Regions from separate parts of the Homo sapiens genome. Here regions 1 and 2 are each linked to region 3. Evidence: promoter capture Hi-C in human tissues and cell types (Jung and others, 2019). All regions are on one chromosome and are shown on one strand. The core of a region is centred on a gene start or on the middle of the fragment in contact, and the rest is flanking DNA. Distances in the headings are between cores, read along the strand shown.

The links. Contacts are between HindIII fragments. The study calls those that stand out against the background at their distance.
Region 1: a contact is called between a fragment that was not itself captured here and the fragment with the promoter of POU5F1B in region 3, in 1 of the 25 tissues and cell types used here (psoas muscle).
Region 2: a contact is called between a fragment that was not itself captured here and the fragment with the promoter of POU5F1B in region 3, in 1 of the 25 tissues and cell types used here (ovary).

The regions. Positions count from the first base shown.
Region 1 is chr8:127,453,310-127,457,442 of GRCh38, reverse strand. The region is part of intron 4 of CASC8 (cancer susceptibility 8); the gene reads left to right. Among named protein-coding and RNA genes, the nearest start is that of CASC8, 27 kb to the left of the region's middle. The HindIII fragment of the contact is 4,462 bases long and covers 130-4,133 here.
Region 2 is chr8:127,358,553-127,362,868 of GRCh38, reverse strand. All of the region lies in intron 3 of CASC21 (cancer susceptibility 21), which reads right to left. The region is part of intron 5 of CASC8 (cancer susceptibility 8); the gene reads left to right. Among named protein-coding and RNA genes, the nearest start is that of CCAT2, 40 kb to the left of the region's middle. The HindIII fragment of the contact is 3,348 bases long and covers 1-3,292 here.
Region 3 is chr8:127,413,957-127,418,002 of GRCh38, reverse strand. It overlaps POU5F1B (POU class 5 homeobox 1B), which reads right to left and starts at 2,136. Exons shown (of 1, transcript NM_001159542.3): 1 at 1,057-2,136. The coding sequence starts at 2,136. The coding sequence ends at 1,057. All of the region lies in intron 5 of CASC8 (cancer susceptibility 8), which reads left to right. The HindIII fragment of the contact is 11,415 bases long and covers 1-4,046 here.

The DNA of each region.
Region 1 (4,133 bases), core at 1,111-3,610, 39 kb before region 3:
CTCTTAGTTCCTAGCAAGTAAACCTTCTCACAGGGCAGCTCACAACATGGAAACTTGCTTCATCTGAGTGAGAAAGTGAGAAGGAGAGAGAGAGAGAGAGAGAGAGAGCCAATAAGATGGAAGTTACAGTCTTTTGCAACCTAATCGTGGATGTGACATCCCATCACCTTTGCCATATTCTGTTCTTTAAAGGCAAAGCACTAGGTCCAGCCTACACAAAGGATGTGAATATGGAGAGGTGGGAATCACTGTGGGTGGGGTGGCCCTCTTAGGAGCCTGAATGCCAAAGAGAGGGGAAGCCTGGAATATCAAAGGCACAGGCAGAAGGTCAGAGAGGCTTGTAGATAAGGGGATAGTGGTGCAAGATCTGGTCAAAGAGAAAAATGGGGGCCAGATCATGTAAGGCCTGATTGGCCAAGGTAAGACATGATAGAAAGTTACTGGTAGGTTTTGGGAAAAGAAGTAAATACATTTGGTTCAAATTCTCAACAGATCGTTCAGACTGTCACATGCATATAGCAAGTAGGAGGGCCAGGGTAAGGAGGGGAAAGAAGCCAGTTAGAGGCTGCTCTGGCTGTTCATTTCAAGGTGGTGGTGGTTTGTCTCATGGTGGTGACCATAAAAAGAGAGTGACAGTGGCCGGGCGCAGTGGCTCAAGCCTGTAATCCCAGCACTTTGGGAGGCCAAGGCGGGTGGATCAGGAGGTCAGGAGATCAAAACCATCGTGGCTAATACGGTGAAACCCCATCTCTACTAAAAATACAAAAAAAGCTGGGCGTGGTGGTGGGTGCCTGTAGTCCTAGCTACTCGGGAGGCCGAGGCAGGAGAATGGCGTGAACCCGGGAGGCGGAGCTTGCAGTGAGCCGAGATCGCGCCACTCCACTCCAGCCTAGGTGACAGAGCAAGACTCCGTCTCAAAAAAAAAAAAAAAAAAAAAAAAAAAAGGAGTGACAGAGTGGGATCTATTTTGGAGGAAGAGTTAGCAGAGTTTGCTGGTGGCTTAGATGAGGGTAATGAAGGAAAGCAAAATCAGCTGGTCATTATTTTGATTGCTTTTTATTGTATCTTGTGTTTATTGAAAACCTGAAAGCATGTGAGAGCTAGAAGAATCCTTGGGAATTATTTAATACAGTTTCCTTGTCATACTGATGGGGAAGCTGCAAGCCACTTCATCTTTCTAGTCCTCAGCTTCCAGTTTTGTAATAGGAGAAGCTGGGCTAGATTTTCTGTGAGCATTAAGGAATACTCTCTGAACAAAACCAAAGCTTGAATCTGCACTGACTTCCAGTTTGTGCCTTTGTCCATTTCCTGTATGGAGAAGCTGAGAGGAAGGAAGGGTGGGTGGAGAGGGAGATCAGCCTGTGCAAAGGTATTGAGTCCAGAGCACGCTTGATGGGTCAAAGGGGTTTTGGGTAGCCAATGGGCTTTAAAAACCACTATGGTACCAAGATTCTGTGGTCCATTTGCTGGTGGAAAACAGCCTGACCATGTGCTTTCTCAGAGTGCTTGGATGTAGGGCAAAGGTCTGCAGAAATATTTAACCAGGTGAGCAGATACATTATTAATAGTAATATCTACCTGTTATGGAACACATACTCTGTGCTGGACACTGTATAGCTGGAGAAAATATACATTCATTGTTCAGTTCTTTCTCACTCTTGCAGAGCTGCTTCTTCTATACTCTCATTCTTGTGAAAAGCAGTTACTCAGACCAAGAAACTCGTAGTCCCATTCCTTCTCTCCCACTCACATATAACTCATCAGCAAACCCTGTTGGCTCGATTTCAAAATAAAACCCAATTCCTACCATTTCTCCATCTCAATGGCTACCATTGCAGCCCAAACCACCATCCTCTTTTCCTAGAGAACATTTAACATCTCCCTAACTGGCTCCCACACCTGATCCCTCCGGTCTAACACAACATAGCAGCTTGAGTGATCCTGGTAAAACTGAAGTCAGATCATGGCACTCCTACGTCAAAAGCCTCCAATGGCTCCCAATTACTTTTAGAGAAAACAATCTAAGTCCTTGTAATGGTCCCATAAAGCATTGCATAATTAGTGTCCCATCCTCGCACTATCAGTTACATCTCTGATCTTCCTCCTACTTCTTTCTCCCTCGCTCACTCCAGTGCAGCCACATGGCCTCCCTGTTTCTGGAACACAGAGGCACCACCCTCCCAGTGTCTTGCCTCTGGGCCTCTAAACTTGCTGTTTCCTCTTGCCTAGAAAGCTCTTCTTCCAGATACTTACAAAGCTTGCTCTTTCACCGCCCACTCCTCCCTTTATTTTTTGAGACAGGGTCTCACTCTGTTGCCCAAGCTGGAGTGCAGTGACACAATCTCAGCTCACTGCAGCCTTGACCTCCTGGACTCAAGTGTTTCTCCCATCCCCACCTTCTGAGTAGCTGGAACTACAGGAGCCCACCACCATGCCTAGCTAATTTTTTTGTATTTGTAGAGATGGGGTTTCGCTGTGTTGCCCAGGCTGGCCTCCAACACCTTAGCTCAAGTGTTTGGCCTGCCTTGGCCTCTCAAAGTGCGAGGATTACAAGAGTAATCCTCCTCCAGTGCGCCTGGCCCCTCACTCCTTTTTGAAGTCTTCACTGCATGTTGCTTTCTCAATTGCAGTCTTTCCTGGTCATTCTGATTTGAACTGAACTCCTCCTTCCAATACTCCCTATTCTCTTTCCCTGTTTTATATTTCTTAGTATTTATCACCTTCAAATGCAATATATTTTCTTTTCTGTCTCCCATAAGTAGAACATAACTCCACAAATGCTGAGGCTTTTGTTTTGTTCATTACTGTATCTCCAGAACTTAGAGCATAGTAGATGCTGAATAAATGCTTGTAGAATGAATGAAGAATCTGCCGTATGAGGCAAGTACTCTTTCCCTCTAGTTATCGCATGTGAACACTGAGATGCAGAAAAAATTTGCATTTTGCCTGAGGTCACAAAGTTGGAGAATGGCAGAGTTAGGACTTAAAGCAGAGTTTGTTAGCTCCCAGAACAGCCACCAGATTTTGTGTGTTCTTGGAGGCATAATAGAATGGGTTAAGGCCATAACAATGGCTTTAACAGAACGTGAGCCTCAATTTCTTTATTCATAAACAGGGAAATAAATATTTACCCCATGAAGTTGTTGTAAGGGTCAAGTGGGATGCTAAGTGTGAAAGTGCATTGTAAGATATTAAATGTTTTCCTTGCATGGAAATTGTGCATACTATATATAGTACTGTATTGAACAGCACAGATATAGAACAGTTGCATACTATATAGTATTGTGAATACTATACAGGACCACATGGGGACCTTGAACTTGGTATGTTCCCAATCAGAAAGCAGCACTGGGTCATAAAAGACACTAGTTGTAGAGACCTGTTGTAGAAGGCCTGGGTAGAAAAAAAAAATAAGAAAATCTGGCTTTCACCAGTTTTGAGCTTGCTGACTCAAGTTGATCAAACTGGGGTTACTGAGCCTCAGCTTCGTCAGCCTTAGAATGAGGCTCACTCTATCCTACTACACGACTGTAAAACTCACTTGGGATCGCGTGAGGGAGGCCTGCAGCAGGTCTTTTTCTCTGTCATTACAATTTACACTGTCCTGTCTGTGGGCACATTCAGAAGTAATTTCATGTTTCTCAGCTTTCACTGGGGACTTCAAGCATCTTAAGGAGCAGGCAAGCTGGCGACTTGTGGCAATCTTCTTTTACATCCATGTCATAATTCTTAGGGCCCAGCATGAAAGTCCAGGGCGGTATCATTTCTCACATCTGAGTGAGTTTTCTCATTTGCAATCATTTCCCAGACAAATCTTTCTGGGAGTACGCTTTTTTTTTTTTTTTTTCTGGAATATAAGCCCATATTGGAATAGATCACTTCTCCCTTAGGGAATCTTTGAAATTTTGAATGTTTTGTAATTCTCTACTAACCTGTAAGCCAGAAAATACCCCTGATTCAAACTGCATAAATAAAGGATTTTTAAAAGCCTAAATAAAATGCAATACGAGGAAAGAATTTCAGCAATAATAGAATGTCTGGTTAATTTTCGAGTATAAGGCAGAGTTGCTTCTCCTGAAAATAGAAATATTTTCCTGAACACCAGAAGATATGAAAAACTCTTAGTAATGACT
Region 2 (4,316 bases), core at 369-2,868, 55 kb after region 3:
AGGAACAAAGAATGATATTGGTATCAAGACTTTTGAAACTACCTGATTAAAAATACTTGATTTGGACTTAAAAACCACATCAGATCATCTTTACAACTGAACTAGTGCAGGTGGTTTTAACAGTAGTCATTAGGATGAGCAAATGAATGACTGGACAGAAAGGGACAATAACTGGTGATTAAGTGGTAGCAGATAGACACAGACCTAGATCTGGTTCACTCAGTGCATTTTTTCAAGGGAGAAAGTCATCAGTCTTGGAGATTTCCCCCACTCAATATGAGTATCTCTAATTTATTACATACATATCTTAGGCTGGGCTTTTAAAGCAATATTATTTTTTATTTATAGGGGAATTTAAATACGGCATTTTTCAAAGTGTAAACTTCAGATCTAACCTATCAGCTGGAGTCATAAATCACAGCTTCTTCATTTCCAAATCATTAGGGAGACTGAAAGCTTAAAGTATTTAATTTATCCAAACCACATGGGGTAGTTTATCATTGTGCATGATGTACCATTTTTTTTTATTTCAGTGCTGACTAGTAAAATTTTGAACAAATCATGCTGAGTTTTGGGGGTATATGAAGGCAATGCAAACCTTTTAAATCTCCAAGGAGTATGTAATATGAGTATCCGTATGAAAAATGTGTAGAAATGGAAGTTAACATAATACTTAGGATAGCTCCCTGACATTACAGGGTACCTCGTATTAGAATCCATTCTGCATGAAATAAGTTAGATTTTTTAAAGAGAGAAAAATGTGGTGCCTTGATGAATAGAAATGGATAAAATGAATGAATGAGATAGATGCAAAATGGACTAGTCCTTTCTTGGTAAGACAACACATTTTTTTTCCTATTTATAGGTTTCTGTCTATAAATAAAGTAAATCCTCCAGTACTTGCCTTGAAAAATTGTCTTACATTCACAAGAAAATATTTCAGATTATTTGATGAGTAAGTCTTTTTTTTTTTACTTTACTCAAAATCTCAACTGGCTTCAAGTTCATGACTGGAGTAGTGAGGTTACTTATGTCTTTTGAAAGTAGTGGGCATTCCTTAGAATACCAAAGATTTAATATATTAACAATACCAAAACCCAGGATTTGAGCCCAGATCTGTTTTAGCTCCAAAACTCCCAAGCTGAGTCAATCTCAACACCATCCAATGCTCTGCCTTTTAGAGAACAACAGATAGCTCTAGGAAAGAGTAAGCTGATGGGAATATAATCTTCTTCTCAGCTTAAAATAGGCTTGTCTCCCGAGTGCGGCTCTACATTTACCCATTGTTTCTATTTGTGCATTGAAGCCTTCATTTATCTCTGCACTCCCATGTTCATCGAAGCATTATTCACAATAGCAAAGATATGGAAACAACACAAATGTCCATCAACAGATGAATGGATAAAGAAAACATGGTATATATACAAAATGGAATGTTGTTTAGTCTTAAAAAGAAAAAAATCCTGCCATTTGTGCCAACACGGGCACAAATGAACCTGGGAGACATTAGGCTAAGTGACATAAGCCAGGCACAGAAGAACAAATACTACATGATTCCACTTTTATGACATGTCTATAATGGTCAAAATCATAGAAGCAGGGATCACAGTAGTGGTTGCCAAGGAGTGGGAAGATGGAGAGTTGTTGTTCAATAAGTATAAAGTTTCAGTTATGCTAGATTAATAAATTCTAGAGGTCTTCTATACAACATATTATCTACTGTTAATAATATGATATTGTGCACCAGAAAATTTAAGAGGGAAGATCTCATGTTACATGTTCTTACTGCCAACATAACAAAACTGGAAGGTAATGGGCATGTCCATTACCTTAATTGTACTGATGGTTTTTGCGTATATCCAAACTCATCAAATTGCAATAAATATCACTCATTAAATATGTGCAGGTCTTTGTATATCAATTATACTTCAATAAAGCTTTTATTTATTTATTCTTTTTTTTTAAAGCCGTTCTAAAATCCCTGAAATGAGCTTGGTGCTATGCTAGGTGATGGACATTTCATTCTAGTCCTATATATGTTGTTTAAAAAATTTAGACAAAATTAATTTAACAAAGTTTATTTGAGCGTGAATCAGGCAGAACTCCACTTGGAAAAGGTTCAGAGAACTCTGCTTCAGCAGCATGAGCAGCGGGCTTCTGTAGAGTGCACATGAAAGCAAAGTAAAGAAATTGCTTGATTGGTTACAGATAGGCCTTTTGCCTTGTTTAGGTACAATCTAGTGGGAAGTCTCTAGTTGGAGGTTAGTTGGTGATTTCAGATTGGCTAAACTTAAGTTCTGTTTTTTCAGTTGTAATCCCCAGTATTGGAGGTGGGGCCTGATTGATAGGAAATAATTGGATCATGGGGGTGGATCCTTCATCAATGGTTTAGTATCATCCCCTCTTGGTACTGCAGAATGAATTAGTTCTCATGAAATCTGGTTGCATAGAAATTTGTGGCACCTCCCCCTTCTCTCTCTCTTCCTCCTGCTCCAACCATGTAAGATGTCCCTGCTTCCCCTTTGCCTTCTGCCATGATTATCAGTTTCCTAAGGCCTCCCCAGAAGCCACTATGCTTCCTGTACAATCTGCAGAACTGTGAGCCAATGAAACCACTTTTCTTTATAAATTACCCAGTCTCAGGTATTTCTTTATAGCAATGCAAGAATGGACTAATACAGAACCCAAAACACTGGAGCCATCTCAGCCTAATGGCCTTCCAATTAAATGTTTTTTAAAAGTTTTAAGACTCAAATTTGGCATGGACTGAACCTGAAGTAACTGCCCTAGTTTATTCTACAACTTTAGATGACTCTAAATCCTTCTTATGCAATAATTTCTACTTATATCCATCACTTTTTAAACTGTGGAGTCATGAAACATTTCTAAGCCTCAATTTCCTTATCTGCAAAATGGAGGTAATAATTTAATACCTGCTTTTCTAACTTAGAAAAATAAGGTGAGATAGATAGCGTGATGCCAAATATAAGTACAAGGAATGACAATAGTACTAATTATTGGGCTTACATTTAACAACTAACATTAAGCACTACATGATATAAACAATTTACATGTTCCATTTCACATAATCTTCATTAAAGTCTAAAGAGAGAGAGATAATACTATTCTTTCTGCTCTATAGATGAATGAACCGAATCTTTAGAGAGGTTAATAACTTGCCCAAGATCGTGGACTATTGAACACCAACACTGCATAAAATTGCACTTATTGTAGTGAAGGCTGAGAGAACCCTGAAGACTGTAAGGTGACTGTTGACTTGGCACCCAGCTATGAGATGCTGGAGGATGCTCATATCTGTGGACTATTTTAGCCTTGACTACATAGTCCCACACCTCAGATCTGACATATCCGATTGAAAACATTTTCAATGAGCCACACATGGCAGCCAATGCTTCCATTTCAGAGAGGAAACGAGAACACTCACATTTAATAGGCAAGGCTATGCTAAAACCTTTATATATTTTGCCTTATTTTGGCCTCATAACAATGCTATGTGGTAGTTACTATTATCTACCTTTATAGGTCTAAAAATGGAAGTGGGAAGAGATTATTTACTTATAATCTGTTTTTATGTATAAAAATTCAATAACATGAATATACATGTTCACTTAATACAAGTAGAAAGAAAATATGAATACAAACATAAAAAGCCAGAATCATGGAAAATAGGGATGCTGAGAAGATAGAAAAACAGAGGATAAGTTGGGAATGATGCAGATGTAACCACCTGACAGGTTCTTCTTGCCCATTGCACAGACAAACCAATTCACTGAGACTTGGTGGTTGCAGTAGAGAAAGAGTTTAATTAATGCAAGGCTGGGCAAGTGGAAGGACTGGAGTTATTACTCAAATCCATGTCCCTGAGAACTCAGAGGCTGGGGGTTTTATGGATAATTTGGTGGGCAGGGGGCTAGGGATTGGGTGCTGCTAACTGGTTAAGGATGAAATCATAGGGGTGTGGAAAACGGTCCTTGTGCACTAAGTCTGCCTCAAGGAGGGGGCCACAGGACTACTTAAGTCATGAGTCACAGGTCTGAATGGGGTCAGTCAGTTACCAGAATCCAAAAGTCGGAAAAACATCTCAAAAGAACAATCTTAGGTTCTACAAGAACAATGTTATCTACAGGAGCAATTGGGGAAGTTGGAAATCTTGTGACCTCTGGCCACATGACTCCTGAGCAGGATTAATAGAAACTATGCCTATTCTGAATCTTAGCAGAATTCAGGTTCCTCTCATAATTCTAATTTCACGGCTTTTTATTCGTTTTTGGTTCCTGAACAAGGAGGGGGTTAGT
Region 3 (4,046 bases), core at 887-3,386:
CAGGGCCGGGCGTGGTGGTTCACGCCTACAATCCCAATACTTTGGGAGGCCAAGGCAGGCAGATCACCTGAGGTCAAGAGTTCGAGACCAGCCTGGCCAACATGGTGAAACCCCATCTCTACTAAAAATACAAAAATTAGCCGGGCGTGGTAGTGGGCGCCTGTAATCCCAGCTACTCAGGAGGTTGAGGCAGGAGAATTACTTGAACCTGGGAGGCAGAGGTTGCAGTGAGCCGAGATCACACCACTGCACTCCAGCCTGAGCTATAAAGGAAGGCACTACCTCAAAAAAAGAAAAAAAATTATCCGGGCCAGGTGCAATGGCTCATGCCTGTAATCCCAGTACTTTGGGAGGCCCAGGCAGGAGGATCCCTTGAGCTCAGGAGTTTGAGACCAGCCTAGACAATATGGCAAAACCCCATCTCCACCAAAAATACAAAAATTAGCCAGTCTCATAACCTGGTCTCAAAATAAATAAGTAAATAAATAAAATTTTAAAAAATTAAATTAAAAAATGAATTATCTGTATCATGGGGAATGGTTAATGCTCACATTTTTGTGGAATATGTGAGGGAATGGTGAGGGCCGAACTATGCCGTTAGCGGTCAAAAGAGGTTTTGTATCAGGACAAATAGGATGTCTTGAAGAAAAACTACAGCTACCATCAAGTAGCACTCTAGGAAAAGGTAAAAAGGAGGAAAAAAGCAAGTATTTATTGAATACCTACTACGTGCCACACATTTTACCACACTTAAAAAATTATTACTCAATTATGTTACTTTTCTTTTCTTTCTTTTTTTTTTTTTTTTACTGTGTCCCAGGCTTCTTTATTTAAGAAAAAAGTGATACATGATGTGGGATTAAAATCAAGAGCATCATTGAACTTCACCTTCCCTCCAACCAGTTGCCCCAAACTCCCCTGCCCCCACCCTTAGTGTTCCCAATTCCTTCCTTAGTGAATGAAGAACTTAATCCCAAAAGCCCTGCCACAAACTCCAGGTTCTCTTTCCCTAGCTCCTCCCCTCCCCTGTTCCCCATTCCTAGAAGGGCAGGCACCTCAGTTTGAATGCATGGGAGAGCCCAGAGTGATGACGGAGACTGGGGGAAAGACTTCCCCCTCAGGGAAAGGGACTGAGGAGTACAGTGCAGTGAAGTGAGGGCTCCCATAGCCTGGGGTACCAAAATGGGGCCCTGGGGCCGGAGGAAAGGACACTGGTCCCCCTGAGAAAGGAGACCCAGCAGCCTCAAAATCCTCTCGTTGTGCATAGTCGCTGCTTGATCGCTTGCCCTTCTGGCGCCGGTTACAGAACCACACTCGGACCACATCCTTCTCGAGCCCAAGCTGCTGGGCGATGTGGCTGATCTGCAGTGTGGGTTTCGGGCACTGCAGGAACAAATTCTCCAGGTTGCCTCTCACTCGGTTCTCGATACTGGTTCGCTTTCTCTTTCGGGCCTGCATGAGGGTTTCTGCTTTGCATATCTCCTGAAGATTTTCATTGTTGTCAGCTTCCTCCACCCACTTCTGCAGCAAGGGCCGCAGCTTACACATGTTCTTGAAGCTAAGCTGCAGAGCCTCAAAGCGGCAGATGGTCTTTTGGCTGAACACCTTCCCAAATAGAACCCCCAGGATGAGCCCCACATCGGCCTGTGTATATCCCAGGGTGATCCTCTTCTGCTTCAGGAGCTTGGCAAATTGCTCGAGTTCTTTCTGCAGAGCTTTGATGTCCTGGGACTTCTCCGGGTTTTGCTCTAGCTTCTCCTTCTCCAGCTTCACGGCACCAGGGGGGACGGTGCAGGGTTCCGGGGAGGCCCCATTGGAGTTGCTCTCCACCCCGACTCCTGCTTCGCTCTCAGGCTGAGAGGTCTCCAAGCCGCCTTGGGGCACTAGCCCCACTCCAACCTGAGGCCCACAGTACGCCATCCCCCCACATAACTCATACGGCGGGGGGCAAGGGGGAATCCCCCACACCTCAGAGCCTGGCCCAACCCCCGGCCCGATTCCTGGCCCTCCAGGAGGGCCTTGGAAGCTTAGCCAGGTCAGAGGATCAACCCAGCCCGGCTCCGCCCCCCATGGCCCATCACCCCCACCGCCTGGAGGGGGCGAGAAGGCGAAATCCGAAGCCAGGTGTCCCGCCATGGGGAAGGAAGGCGCCCCAAGCCGGGGGCCTGGTGAAATGAGCAATTATGTTACTTTTCATTGAAAGCTCTGTGACCGTATGGCTGTGTGTGTCATACGCTCACTAGCAATGAACACAGTGCCTGAAGCATCATTAAATGTTGACTGAATGTGTTAGGAACTCTTCAAAAGTAATCTCTTTAAATCATAATCACCTGTGAATTGACAATTATTATCTTCACTTTGTGGATAAGAATGCCAAGATTTGGAAATGTTGAATAATGTGTCCATTGTGTCAGTGGCCGATCTGAAATTCCAGTGTAGGCACCATGATTCCTGAGTCCATTCTGCTTCTGCCATACCATGATGCTAGATTCTTCATGGGAGCCATCTACTTGTGTTCTGTGCTATGGAATGGTGTGTCCTTCTTTCTGATTCTTATTTCCTGCAGATTGTGGGGAAACGGTTCTACCATTAACAACCAAAGGCAAAATGGGCTGCAACCAAAGAAATTCCCTGACCTAATTCTTTATAGTTGGTGACAAGTGTGCTGTAGTGACGGGAAATAGCACTCTATGAAGATTTAATAGTGCAAATTCTACCCTCCTGACAACCCCTTTCTTCAGCACTGGATGGGTGTATTAGTTGTTTATCATTGTGTAATAGATCACCTCAAAACTTAATAGCTTAAAAACAACTAACACATAGCTCACAGTTTTGTAAAATAGCAATTGTGGTGTGGCTTAACTGGGTATCCTGGATAAGGGTATTTCATGAGGTTGTGGTCAAGATGAGAGCAGGGGATGTTGTCATCTGGGAGCCTAACGGGGGCTGGAGGATCCACTTTCCAAAATGTCTCACTTACTTGGCTGTTGGCAAAGGCCCCGGTTTCTTGTTGGCTGTTGGTAGGAGGCCTCAGTTGCTCACCATGTGGGCTTTTCCATAAAGCTGCTTGAGTGTCCTCACAACATGTCAGCTGGATTCACCCAGAGAGAATGACCTAAGAAAGAGAGAGCAGGGAAGAAGCCACTGCGTTCTTTATGACCTAGTCTCTGAAATCGCACACTTTTACTTGTGCCATATTTTATTCATTAGAAGTGAGTCACATTCTGTAGGAGGGTAATTAGCCTTCACCATTTGGCAGGAGGACTATCAAATAATTGGTGGGCATATTGTAAAGCTATCATAATGGTTCTGGTAGGCCATGTTTTTGCCTCTGCCACTCAAATATTGGATGTCCATTTCTTAAAGGGATTGTGAAAAGAGAAGGGGCTTTAGAATAAGACAGGCAAATGTTTAAACATTGAGTAAATTTTTAATGTCCTTAACCCTTGTTTCTCAACCATAAAATGAGAATGATCATATCAAATCTTCACAGTTTTGCAGGATGGGTTGCAGGTAATAAAGTCCTAGTGCAATGTCTGGCACAAGGTAAGTGTTTAAGCAGTGGGCTCCTTTCTGTTACATAATGTGGCAACCCTCTTCTCCCCTCTCTACCTCTCAAATATGTGTCTGAGTCAGAACACCAAAGTCACACACACACAGGTACAAAACAATTCCTGATTCTATTCCATTTCCATCATGCCATGCTGCCAGTTTCTCCATGGGGCCATCTTTACTTCTGTAGTAAGGAATATAGTTACTTGTTACAGAAATTAGATTCCAGAATTGGGATATGAGTTGGAAAGGGAACTTAAACGTTCTCCTTCAGTCTTGCTCAAATTCTCATGCTTATTTGACGTTCTTGAGTGTTTCCAATAAGATAGATATGACTTTACCTCTAGATTCTCCCACTTGTTATCCTGCCAACCTTAAGTCCCCTTTCTCAGGGTAATAACTTTCTGCTCAATTCTGTTGTGAGGTTTAAGTCAAGTAAGATGTGTGTAATTTTCTCATGAAACAGTAGCTATTATTTATTGTTTATCATTTTA